Linked DNA regions of Homo sapiens: regions 1, 2 and 3 are each linked to region 4. Evidence: promoter capture Hi-C in 16 types of primary human blood cells and fetal thymus (Javierre and others, 2016). All regions are on one chromosome and are shown on one strand. Each heading gives the region's core, a stretch centred on a gene start or on the middle of the fragment in contact. The rest is flanking DNA. Distances are from core to core; before and after follow the strand shown.

Region 1 (3,064 bases), core at 300-2,799, 300 kb before region 4:
GAAAGAAAGCCTTCAAAAATCAGAGTAGTGGTTTGTATATTTTAACAACCGGTTAATCTTTAAGACCAGTGAAGATGAGATTTCCATAAATAAAGCAAAATTCCATATTTAAGTCAGTTGTTGGTGAATGACAAAGAAAATATTAATATATGGCCAGCTGCATTGGCTCATGCCAGTAATCCCAGCATTGCGGGAGACCAAGGTGGGCGGATCGCTTGAGCCCCGGAGTTCGATACCAGCCTGGGCAACATGGCAAAACCCCATGTCTATAAAAAATTACAAAAATTAGCCGGGTTTGGTGGCATGTGCCTGTAGTCCTAGCTACTTGGGAGGCTGAGGTGGGAGGATTGCTTCAGCCTAGGAGGTGGAGGTTGCAGTGAGCCAAGATGGCACCACTGTGTTCCAGTCTGGGTGACAGAATGAGGTTCTGTCTCAAATGAAAAAGAAAGAAAATATTAAAATATAATAATTTTTGTATGTGTAGAACAGGATTCGTGTTGAAAAATAGGGAATTTAAAATGGAGGTGTATGAATACCAAACACAAGCATTTGGATTTATTTTATTTTCTAGGTAGTGATGAGCTATTTAGTTTGGGAAGGTCCTAGCATCAATGGCAACCATTTAGCACTTAACAAGTGTTTGTTATTTTGTTGGAGTATACAGTTAGAGTACCCAAGTTCTGTGTGTTACCTCCCTGTCCCGTGCCCCACCTCTACCCCCCACTCCCACCTTAGGGAGAAAGTTAAGAAGATACCTAGTGCATAGTTCAGTTGAAAAGTGGTAAAAAGAGTAGTTCTTTAGAAAGGATGTTACAATGTAAAGGATTTGTTGGAGGTAAAACCCCAAGAGCTGAGACTGGAAAGGGAAGGGGTTGCCATAATTCATTGATGAGGATGAACTGTGGTTGTAGTTAAAAATGTAGGTTCTGGCATTAGACATAGCTTTGTTTCTCACTGACTGTATTTATAAATTATGTAATGTCTCTAAACCTCAGTTTCCTCATCTGTGAAATAGAGATAATATCCCTATCACTTAGGATTATTTTAAAAATTAAATTGAGATAATGCATGTATGGCATTTAGCACTGCTTAGTAAATGTTGCATAATAAATGTTGGGTTGCATAATAAATACTAGGTGGGATGATGGCATAGTGATGAGTTTCTGAGAGTAGTAGCTATTGAAAATCTGGGATTTGAGTAGATAAGAGTGAGGATAAAGCTGATGCCAAGATTTCTTGCCTGAATGATGGTAGAAGGACAAAAGTAGGGAAGTCTGGGAGCTTCTTTTTTTTTCTTTCTTTTGAGACGGAGTCTTGCTCCCTCACCCAGGCTGGAGTGTAGTGGTGTGATCTCTGCTCCCTGCAACCTTTGCCTCCCAGGTTCAAATGACTCTCCTGCCTCAGCCTTCCAAGTAGCTGGAACTACAGGTGTGTGCCACCACACCCAGCTAAATTTTGTATTTTTAGTGAGAACACATTGTGGTCTCAATGTGTTCGAGACCACATTGGCCAGGCTGGTCTCGAACTCCTGACCTCAGGTGATCTGCCTGTCTCTGCCTCCCAAAGTGCTGGGATTACAGGTGTGAGCCACCGTGCCTGGCCTCTAGGAGCTTCTTAATGAGGGCATGGACTGTATCATCTTCACATCTATATGCCTACCAGGGTGCCTTGAAAGTGCAGTAGCTTAATAAATGTTGTTTACTAAATGAACAAAGGAGTTTAAAGTTGATGTTGTAGCATTCAGATAGGCAGTGAGAGATGTGCGGGTAGAACTTCAGAGAAAGTTCAGGCCTAGTGAAGCCTAATTTGAGAAACAATGTTAGCTTTGAAAGAAAAGTGAAAGCACCAAGTTTACCCACCTTTTGAAATAGTATCAACATGTTATGGAAGTTTTAAGACTTAAGACATTATTATGTAACAATGTTTATAAAGTGAACAAAGGACATATTCTTTCTCACTGACTTCTTAGTTTCAAAATGTAGCAAGAATGAATAAACCAAGGTACAAGTTGAACAAGGTGCAGGCTCATCCTGTAATCCCTCATTATGCACAGCAGATAAGTTCCTAAAGTTCTGTTGATCTTTTATGTGTGTCTCTGTGTGTTGTGCATCATATTTTAAATATTTTCATTAAGGTAATCTGTAGTTTTTAAATAACCAAGAAGTTAATCTTTGTTGTATAAACGATCACTTTCCTTTTTTTTTTTTTTTGAGATGGAGTTTTGCTCTTGTTGCCCAGGTTGGAGTGCAATGGCGTGATCTCTGCTCACTGCAACCTCCACCTCCTGGGTTCAAGCAATTCTCCTGCCTCAGCCTCCCGAGTAGCTGGGATTACAGACATGCACTGCCACGCCCAGCTAATTTTGTATTTTTAGTAGAGACGGGGTTTCTCCATGTTGGTCAGGCTGGTCTCGAACTCCTGACCTCAGGTTATCTGCCCGCCTCCACCTCTCAAAGTGCTGGGATTACTCGCGTCAGCCACCGTGCCCAGCCCACTTTCTTTTAAGTATTAATTTTGTATATTGGGTTCTTTTTAAAAAGCACATTTTTATTTTCTTTAGCTGAGTTGATGGCTTCCGGAGAACTGGCATAGCTGCAGAATATGAGTAGTGTCCCAAGAAGAGTGCTTTGCCTTTGGCACAAGGATCAGAATAAAGGTGAATTGCTATTACATAGGGTTTTTCGGTAAAAGTCACTGAAAAGTAAGTAATGTTTTTGTTTTGGATATATGTTTCAAAGAGCATGCAATCTGGCGGGAACTGACAGTTTTGTGTTTGTTTTGTAGTAATAGTTTTTGTGTTTTGGCCATACTTTATTTACCACTGAATGCTCTCTGATTAAGGATGTTTTCAAAGCAGTACCTAAAATGTGAGCACTTAAATAAATGTACAGGGCATAGAAACATTTTTGCTAATATTGTTGCTTTGAGCATTCATGGTGATGCTCAAAGTTGAACAGTAATTTTAATAATTGTGAAGAAATTTAGAGAAAGAATCTCTGGACATATTTAAAGAATAATTCATTTTAATTATCTTTTGTCTTCTTATTTTTTTGCTTTAATAAGA
Region 2 (3,249 bases), core at 18-2,517, 320 kb before region 4:
CAACAAAACAAAGCAGCCATTATCAGGCTTACCTGCTATACTTTAATAAGCACATTCTTCTTTTTTTGTTAGGGCATTTCAGATACACAAACCATTCTGAAAACAGTTTAGTCAGGCAACTAATAAGGAAATCAGTCTATTATTTTATATTATTTATAGTTACACCTTGTAGAAGAGCCAACGCCCAAGATTTTTAACACTCAAAGTACTCTTGTGTTTTTGTTAAGTGCTTAAAAGTAATTTTCTTAGTAATTTCTCTAAAGCTGTGTAAGGTCAGTGCCAACCTAGCATACATATTTCATAAGGAAACTTGACAAAGAGGAAAGGCTTTAATAAGATGACTATTAAGTGCCTTTGGGGCCATAAAAGCCCACAAAGTAGATTCCTGAACAGGATTTCCCTTTTCTTAATTTTTTAGATATGACAGGTGGCAAAAATATTTTAACTTACATGCCAATTCTCGTCTATTATAGAGGCCGCCCAGAATGCTATGTTAAGAAGGATTCTGAAGTCAAATCTGGGTTCAGTGTGGGAAAAGTGCTGGAAAAATAATTACTAAACTCCTCTTATATGCCATGCACTATGCCTCACAGATGACATAGTGTCAATAACAGGTCAGGGAGTGAGAAGTAGCTGTATGCCTGATACCTTTCCTGTAATGTGAACACTGTTTCTTTAAAGTTCATTGGGTAAAAGTAAATAAGAATCCGGAAGACCAGGAGAGAGAGAGAGAGAGAGAGAGAGAGAGAGAGAGAGAGAGAGAGAGAGAGAGACACACACACACACACACACACACACACACACACACACACAAACGTTCTCTCTCTCTCTCCTCCATGCCCTTCCTTTTATTATTCAGAGAACGTTTAGGACCATATTCAATGTATATCTCCCCCAAGTGACTCACCCAAAGCATTTACCTGGTTTCTGGATGTGATGCTACACATTGCAGTAATGCCAGAGCATTGCAAACTCTGTTAGACTGGTGTGCTGTCAAGGTGGGTGGGTTGATAGATGGATAAATATTTACAATTTCCTAAAAAATGGAAATCAGCATCAGATGAATAAGGAATAACTAAAAATTAATTCCCATGGTAATAAAGCAAAAAAAAAAAAAGGCAAATAAAATAGCTCTTAATTCTGTGCATCTTTTAAGAACTCAGTCATCAAAGAGGGAGCAGAAATAATGCTCATATCCTTTCATCACAAACTTACTTGGCTGAGACTAGCTAAGACATTTCTACATTTGTCTCTAGGAAGATTTTTTTTTTTGAGACTCACATTTCTACATTTGTCTCTAGGAAGATTTTTTTTTTTGAGACGGAGTCTCGCTCTGTTACCCGGGCTGGAGTGCAGTGGCACGATCTTGACTCACTGCAAGCTCTGCCTCCCAGGTTCACACCATTCTCCTGCCTCAGCCTCCAGAGTAGCTGGGACTACAGGCGCCTGCCACCACGCCCAGCTAATTTTTTGTATTTTTAGTAGAGATGGGGTTTCACCGTGTTAGCCAGGATGGTCTCGATCTGCTGACCTCGTGATCTGCCCGTCTCGGCCTCCCAAAGTGCTGGGATTTCAGGCGTGAGCCACTGCGCCCGGCCTAGGAAGATTTCTGTGGAGGCAAATGTAGTCATCTACACTTCCTCTTATATTCTCCAGCTACTGAGGCTATCAGTTGAGGGATACTCAAATTTTTATAATTTTGCTAGCATCCTGCTTTAAGTTACAGTGATGAGATCACTGGCCAGAAAGTGTTAAGTCAACCACGGTGACTCATAAAGAAGTTTGAATTTGGTTAGGTAGTAACATGGTAAGGACATGAATCAATGGGTGGGGATATGTATAAACAGCAGTGAATATATGCACTATCTGTCAAAAAGTAATGATTTACTCAATACAATTCCATTTACATTTTTTTTCTTTTTTTTTGAGACAGGGTCTCACTCTGTCATCCAGGCAGAGTGCAGTGGCATGATCATGGCTCACTGCAGCCTCCACCTCCTGGGCTCAATTGATCCTCCTACTTCAGCTTCCCAAGTAGCTGGGATTACAGGAGTGTACCACCAAGCCTGGCTAATTTTTGTATTTTTTGTAGAAATGGTGTTTCGCCATGTTGCCCAGGTTGGTCTCAAACTCCTGGGCTCAAGCAATCCTCCTAACTCAGTCTGCCAAACTGCTGGGATTACAAGCATGACCCACTGCACCTGGCTACAATTTTCCATTTACATTATTTGTAAAACTTTTACATAGAAAAACGTTCCCATAACAAAGATCAGTTTCTTGGCTAAATGCAATAGAGATGGAATGTGAATTTACTTAAGAGTTGAAAAGTTAATCTAATTGTTAGGAATTTGGGGCAATACTTTAATGGATGATCATGCCACTACCTAGGTATTTTGGTATTGTTATTGTACCATATCAGTTAATTAGCCACCAGTGACCATTCTGGTTTGAACTGAACTTCAGTTATCTATTCTTTAATGTACAAGTGTACCCACCTTTAATACTACAGCTGTTATACCTTCAACATTTCCTTTCCAGGCCAGGCATGGTGGCTCATGCCTGTAATCTCAACATTTTGGGAGGCCAAGGTGGGTGGATCACGAGGTCAGGAGTTCAAGATCAGCCTGACCAACATGGTGAAACTCCGTATCTACTAAAAATTAAAAAAAAAAAAGCCAGGCATGGTGATGCAGGCCTATAATCCCAGCTACTCAGGAGGCTGAGGCAGGAGAACCACTTCAACCCGGGAGGCAGAGGTTGCAGTGAGCCGGGATTGCACCATTGCACTCTAGTCTGGGCGACAGAGCGAGATTCCGTCTCAAAAAAAAAAAAAAAAGAAAAACAAACAAAAAAACCCAAAAACCCATTTCTTTTCCATAGAATATATTGTACCTTGTGGTCCTTATACTCTACTTTCCACCTTCCTCCCCCTGTCATGTAGATTTATCTTACAGTACTCCTAAAGCGGTGTTCGTCAAAGCGTAGTTCTTAGATCACTTGCATCACAATCACCTGGGGGAGGTGAAAGTGCTTATTAAAATATAGATTATAGGGCCCACCTCAGACTGACTAAATTGAATCTCTTGGGTAAGGATCCAAGAATCTGCATTTTAACAAATACCTCAGACCTTTCTAAAACAGATTCTTACAAATGCAGTTTTTTAAAGAATCATCCTCCTAAAGTCTTCAAATCATTTGGGCAAAGGTAAAGAAATATACAAGTGTAATGAAAAGAACTGAACTGCCAAT
Region 3 (3,292 bases), core at 461-2,960, 280 kb before region 4:
GTCTTATCACTTCATGGGTGTGATAGCACTTAGCTCCTGATGGTTAGCTCTGGTTGCACAGTCCCTTGATGACCATCAGTCAGATGCTCTGTCTCTTCCAGGGCTTAATAATATGCCAAGAGTAGTATGCCATACTTTACAGATGAGGTATAATTTTTGGCTGCAGACAGCATGGTCTTGCTTTACAAGGTCTGGGCTGCAACTCTCCTGTGGGTGACTCTACACATTGTCTTTGTCCTTTAAGTTGGTAATTGGCTCAACTGAGCCTGTCTTCTCTCTTGAACACATAAATACTCAGCATCAACCAGTCAATTCCATAGTCTTTTTGATGATTATTTACCTGATATCACCTACATCTTATCTGTTGCTGTATCCAAACCACTCCAAAATTTAGTGACTTGAAATAGTAACTATTCATTTTTGCTTATGAATTTATGGTCACCTGGGTGGTTCTGTTTATCTGGGCCCAGTTTGGCTCATAGTACCTGGATTCTAATTTTGTTACGCCTCTGTAGTCAGTAGATGGTTTGGCTAGAGTTTGACTGGTCTAGGATGGCCTCACTCATATAACTGGCCATTGAGTGGTGGGCGTGATTGGGCCATGTGTCTTCCACTGTTAACAGGCTAGCCTGGGATTATTCACATAGCAGTGGCAGGGTTCCAAGAGAGTGAGTGGAAACCTGCAGGGCACCTTTAGACTTAGGGTCAGAACTCACACACTGTTAACTTCTGTCACATTGTTTTGGGAAAAGGAAATCACAGGACTAGCCCCATTAAGGGATGAAGAAATAGACTGAATTTATTGATTAGAAGCTTGAATATAGGGAGTGAAATAATTTGCGACATTTTAAAAACAACTTTATTAAGCTACAATTTACATACCATGTAATTGACCCATTTTAAGGGTATATAAGTCAATGATTTTTAGTAAATTTTTTTAGTTATATTACGTCATCATTATCTAGTTTCAGAACATTTCCATTACCCCAATACGATCTATTGTGTAATCATTCTACCACATTTCTAAAATACTGGAGATACTGCGTGAGCCCTATCCTTCTCTACCTTATTTCATCCTAATTCACCATAGGTGAAAATCTTAGCAATTGTAACACTATAAGATGTCAGAGGTATTACTATCAGCAACAGAATTTCTGTTGCCATTGCCAAACAAGGGTCCAATTCCAGAATCCTATCCTTAGAGTGTGCTTCCTAGGCCCACTTTTAGTACCAGCTGTTGTAGATTATGTTCCCCAGAAGCAGAATCTGAAATGGAGATTAGTGTGCATGTGAATTACTAAGGAAGTACTCCCAGAGAAGATAGTGAAGGGAGTAAGGAAAGCAATATAGTTAAGGGCAGGAAACAAAGCATGGATGTGATCCTGGAGAAGTCACACAAGGACATGAAGGTTAGTCTTCATCCTGATATTACAGAAATCTGTTATGTAGCTTCCACCATAAAGTTGTTTTAATCCAAATCAGGAGAGCTGGGCTTCTCTACTGTAGCGCCCGGCCTTGTTTGTGACTCTGAGATTACAGGCAAAGTATCTCTAGTAACTTGAGGGCAGTCCTGTGAAGAAGAGCCCTTGGTACTGGCTATCAAAAACATAAGTTGGTGTGAAGATATGGAAGAGAGAATATAAAAATGAGTCAGTGGGAATCTAGGTGGGGCACACTTAGGCATTGTCTGCCACAGGCTTAGTTCATGATGGTTCCCCTTAAATTAGCACTGTTAAAGCATGAACATTTATTTGAATGGACACTCTCTACTTATATGGGTTGAGGTATTTGAAAATAATACAGGGGAGAAAAGGGCTTTTAAAAGAAATTTTAACTTTGTATTCATGATCCTAAAGAATTTTAATCAATATAAATTAAAATGCTGTTGCTGCTTAGCAAATAGTATTGCTATTCATGTGGAATACACAGTTTTGATTTTGATTTTTCTTTTCCTTTTTTTTTTTTTTTTTTTTTTTTTGAGATGAAGTCTCGCTCTTGTCACCCATTCTGGAGTGCAATGGCGTGATCCCTGGCTCACTGCAACCTCTGCCTCTGGGTTCAAGCAATACTTCTGCCTCAGCCTCCTGAATAGCTGGGATCACAGACGCCTGCCACCACGCCTGGCTAATTTTTTTTTTTTTGAGACAGAGTCTCGCTCTGTCACCCAGGCTGGAGTGCAGTGGCGCGATCTTGGCTCACTGCAAGCTCCGCCTCCCGGGTTCACGCCATTCTCCCACCTCAGCCTCCTGCGTAGATGGGACTACAGGTGCCCGCCACCACGCCCAGCTAATTATTGTATTTTTAGTAGAGACAGGGTTTCACTGTGTTAACCAGGATGGTCTTGATCTCCTGACCTCATGATTCACCTGCCTCGGCCTCCCAAAGTGCTGGGATTACAGGTGTGAGCCACTGCATCCAGCCCACTCCCAGCTAATTTTTGTATTTTTAATAGAGATGGGGTTTCCCACGTTGGCCAGGCTGGTCTCGAACTCCCAACCTCAGGTGATCCGCCCGCCTCGCCCTCCCAAGCTGCTAGGATTAAGGCTTGAGCCACCGCGCCCAGCCTGATTTGTTTTTCTTTGTAAACCTATAAACTGCCAAGCTTGAACATTGTACTTTTTTTTTTTTTTAAGACTAAGACTCACTCTGTTGCCCAAGCTGGAGTGCAGTGGCGCGATCACGGCTCACTGCAACCTCCACCTCCCAGGTTCAAGTGATTCTCCTGCCTCACAGCCTCCCGAGTAGCTGGGACTACAGGAACGCGCCACCATGCTTGGCTAATTTTTGTATTTTTAGTTGAGACGGGGTTTCACTATGTTGGCCAGGCTGGTCTCGAACTCCTGACCTCGCGATCTGCCCGCCTCAGCCTCCCAAAGTGCTGGGATTACAGGAGTGAGCCACCGCGCCTGGCCACAGTTTACTTTTTAATTGATTCTTTTGGTCTTAGTAGCTGAATCATTTTATCTGGTCTTGCTTTTGGCCAAGAAAATCTAATAATCTTGCTGTCTCTGATTTGACTTTTATATAAAGAAAAATGCTCCTTTACTTTTGCTAAGTTATCAGAGTCATGGATTGGATTGGCTCTTGAGATAGTAATTAAAGATTATTTTTGTAATTTTCATTTGTTTAAGTCATTGACCTTTTGAGACTAACAATCTTGTAGCTTAATTTTCAAGCATATCAATGAATTTGGCACTTTAAATGTAAATGTTTTAATGACAACTATTTAAAATTAAGAACAATATTTTTATACACCTGTACTATATTGATGTAAAATTATTAACTATAGGAA
Region 4 (3,320 bases), core at 579-3,078:
CGATGCCCAGGGCTAGGAGCAGGTTCGCGGTGATGATGAGGCTTGCCAGGGCCAGGGAGAGCCCCAAAGCCCCCTTGGGAATGGGGCTGGGCACCTCGCCAGTGCTGTTGGGCGTCATCTTGGTCCTGGGGACAGGGGAGTCCTGGAGCGGCAGCCGGCATGCCTGCAGGATGGGGTGGCCAGAGTTAGGATGGGGCTGCAGGTCGTGTCCTCCTGGCAGGGCAGCATGTTAATCCAGGGGCGCAGACCCGCAGGCTGTGGGCTGTATCATGTTCGCTGATACACAGAATTTTTCAATTAATTGCCAATTAAACATTTATATAAAAAACTATCTTTGGTTTCTATTGAAAATTCAGGTCTGGCAACACATATGTCCTGTGTGGTAGCAACCAGCCGGAGCTCACTGCTGGCTGCCCTTCGGACAGTCCCCACCCAGCCAGCTTTATCCATTTCTGGTATCTGCCTTTTCTGGGCAGCTGTGTTGAGGTCTCTTGTTTAGACTGAAAGGCGGGCCCATCCAGCCCCAAAGCATTTTGTGTATCCCTGCCTCCACCGGGGAGGCCTCTAAATGAGAGAATGGACCAGGGCTGGCTGGTGTGTAGTGGTCTTCCAGCCAGCCATTAGGTGACAGGCTCCAGCGGGCCAGGTCTCGGGCACCCTGCACCCTTCCCCCCATCTGTCCTTGTAGCCATCACAGCTCAGTGAGCAGCCTCCGGGTAGGACTTCCAGCCCATAAACTTGACTCGTCTTTGCTCCACACTAGCAACAGGGTCCTTCCTGGGAGCTGGAGGGAGGAGAGAAGCAGCTGGAGGGCACGTGTGGCAGTGAACGTGGAGATGCCAGCAGCAAGGAGAGGGACTCCCCCACACCCCCAGGCCTGAGGCTGAGCCCAGAGGAGAGGGAAGAGGAGTCTGGGCAGAGTCTGGCTTCTCTGTGGCTCTCATCTGTCCCTGTCCTTCCCGTCATTCCCTGGTCTCAGTCCTCCAGTGTCATGGCTCTGCTGCCACATCCTGGGGACAGGGGGAGGGGTCCTGGGTCCTGTGGGAACTCCTGCTTCTGTCAACAGGGGAGCAGCTGCTGTTGCTAGGATCCAAGTCAATAAGGAAAGGATTCATACCTCTCCCCTCCTCCAGGACAGGGGATCAGGGCCCCATGGCTGCCCTGAGCTGAGAGGAAGGAAGATGCTCCCCTTCCTTCCCAGGTTCCCCCAGCACCCTGAGCCTGGGCCTCCAAGGCCTTATGCCCCCTTTCCCCTCCCCTAAGCATGTTTTCTCTTTCTCAATCTCTTCCAGTGCCCTCCACCCAGGATGTCTTTTCCTCTCTAGAGGCCTTGCAGTTTCTGTTCCCTTTCCCAGGGCATCATCAACTCTCTTAAGTCCCGTGAGACTCAGGGTCCATTACCCCAAACCTGGCCTGAGCTGGAGCTCCCAGCCCTAATCGGAATGATTCCCCCCAACCCACCTCCACTAGAACAGCGACAAAGGCAGGGAGCAGCCCCCAGGGGTGATTTCCCAGCAGGGTGCAGGCTGTACCACCTGCACACCCCCGAGGGTCTGGTGGCTTGGGCTGGGTGTAGTAGCCTCTCCAGGATCTGGGGTTTGGGGGTTTGGGGGAGTAGCTACTCACATGGCTGTTGGGAGCAGGTATTGCCTGCCCAGCCTGGGCCTTCCTGAGTGTCAGGGAGTTGCTGCAGCCAGCCCTGCAGCGGTTTGGACCATGTCTGGTGTCCTGGCTGAAGAGCACAAGTGGACCAAGTGCATGGTGTCTCCACCCAGTGGGGACAGCGGGGCCAGGCTCTCCTACCCAGGCTCTGCCCGTCTGGGTTCTCAGAGGGATAGAGAAATGAGGCTGGCAGGACTCAGCCCTGGCCCCGCCTCTGGGAGGGTGGGACCTGACATATTCCAAACTGCAGCAACTGGGAGGCCTGCCTCCCCCTCCCACCCAGTTCCCCTCTCCCCCTGCCACCTAGGTGGCAGTTTCCCTACTCCAGCTCGGAGTAATCTGAGAAATGCATTCCAGTTAATGAATAATAATGATTGACTTACCCCTCCCGACTTCCCGCCTCAGCTGATGCATTTACATTTAAGCCCCTGGACTGGCCAGCCAGCTGACAGCACACCAGGCTCCCTCCACACTTCCGTGTGTGATGGTGGCAGTGGCAGGTGTTTGGGGCCTGAGGATCTTCACTCCCCCATCCCATCACCTGATGGGCCTTTCAGTTTCTAAGGCCAGACTTGCCTTCCTGAATCTGGGGTCATTCCACACTTTTCTCAACTGCTTTCTGAGTCAAGTTCTGAACTATGAGGGACAAATGGCTCTGGGGATGTGACCATGGGTAAGGTACTACTGGGCCTCGGTTTTTGCCTGTGTTAAAATGGGAACAAGAAAAACCACCTCTAATTAAGGTCGTGGTGGGGAATATCACAGGATAACACATATGGCGGCATATACCCCAGTGCATGGCCCTTGATGGGTGGGGGTTTGCCCCAACAAATGGCTCCCTCTCTTTCCTCCCCCATGATGAAGAGGCATGAGCTGGCGCTGGAATCAGAGCTGTCTGGATCCTTTTTTAAAAAAGCCAGTGAACTTGGGCAAATGACTAAAGTTCCCTTGCCTTAGTTTCCTCATCTGTCAAATGGGGCCCATAGTTGTACTCACCTATCGTGAGACTAAATGAAGTCCCGTGTGATGAGGACTCAGATCAACACTTGGCCCTTCAGCACTCCGCGACAGGCAGCGATCGCTGGGAACATTATTAGGATTTCTGCCTTTCTCTGCACCTGGCCCCTCTAAGACAGATCTGCTGAGAGGGGCGCATGGGGAGCTTGGGAAAAGCAAGAGGGGAGTGACACTCTTGCTGCACAGGGAAGCTGAGGAAACCAGATACATTGAGAGGGAAGGGCAAGTTCAAGGCTGGGAAGCCAGAAGTGGTGCTTTGATTTCCACCTTGTATCAAGTGCGGCTTTGGAGTGAGGGGGAGGAGAGAAGCCCAGCCACACTCCCTTAAGGCCTGAAATGGGAGGGAACAGGCGGAAATTGCAGCAGGAAAGCTGGGACTGGGGGTGAGACATTAGGAAACACTTGCTGGCTGAAGAGCGCAAGTAAATGGAGCAAAGGGACTCTGGTGCTCTCCGGGAGAGCTGGGCCTGAAGGGCTGGAAGCCCGTGGAGTGTGGCTGTGCCAGCTCTGCACAGCCAGTCAGGGATCCTGGAGATCAGGGACTTCTGTTGGGACAAAAAGTGGGAAGAGGAAAGCATCCAGCCTCAAGTCCATCCTCGAGGGAGCTGGTGGGTCGGAAGGACGCAGGGTTCCAGGGCCGG

The links. The method cuts DNA at HindIII sites, captures the fragments that hold promoters and counts their contacts. A CHiCAGO score of 5 or more calls a contact.
Region 1: a fragment that was not itself captured here is called in contact with the fragment with the promoter of GPBAR1 in region 4 in 12 of 17 cell types (neutrophils, total CD4 T cells, non-activated CD4 T cells and 9 more); the score reaches 11.2 in neutrophils.
Region 2: a fragment that was not itself captured here is called in contact with the fragment with the promoter of GPBAR1 in region 4 in 7 of 17 cell types (neutrophils, monocytes, naive CD8 T cells and 4 more); the score reaches 10.3 in neutrophils.
Region 3: a contact is called between a fragment that was not itself captured here and the fragment with the promoter of GPBAR1 in region 4, in 1 of 17 cell types (neutrophils). The highest score is 7.6, in neutrophils.

What each region holds. Positions count from the first base shown.
Region 1 is chr2:218,562,310-218,565,373 of GRCh38, reverse strand. It overlaps USP37 (ubiquitin specific peptidase 37), which reads left to right. Exons shown (of 26, transcript NM_020935.3): 2 at 2,561-2,701. Among named protein-coding and RNA genes, the nearest start is that of USP37, 4.5 kb to the left of the region's middle. The HindIII fragment of the contact is 3,573 bases long and covers 1-3,064 here.
Region 2 is chr2:218,580,758-218,584,006 of GRCh38, reverse strand. It overlaps CNOT9 (CCR4-NOT transcription complex subunit 9), which reads right to left. Exons shown (of 8, transcript NM_005444.3): 3 at 921-1,036. Among named protein-coding and RNA genes, the nearest start is that of CNOT9, 14 kb to the right of the region's middle. The HindIII fragment of the contact is 8,800 bases long and covers 1-3,249 here.
Region 3 is chr2:218,534,704-218,537,995 of GRCh38, reverse strand. USP37 (ubiquitin specific peptidase 37) reads left to right here. Exons shown (of 26, transcript NM_020935.3): 9 at 3,290-3,292. Among named protein-coding and RNA genes, the nearest start is that of USP37, 32 kb to the left of the region's middle. The HindIII fragment of the contact is 1,789 bases long and covers 816-2,604 here.
Region 4 is chr2:218,259,523-218,262,842 of GRCh38, reverse strand. GPBAR1 (G protein-coupled bile acid receptor 1) reads right to left here and starts at 1,828. Exons shown (of 2, transcript NM_170699.3): 1 at 1,627-1,828; 2 at 1-163. The coding sequence starts at 118. RefSeq lists an enhancer at 576-1,381. The HindIII fragment of the contact is 11,967 bases long and covers 1-3,320 here.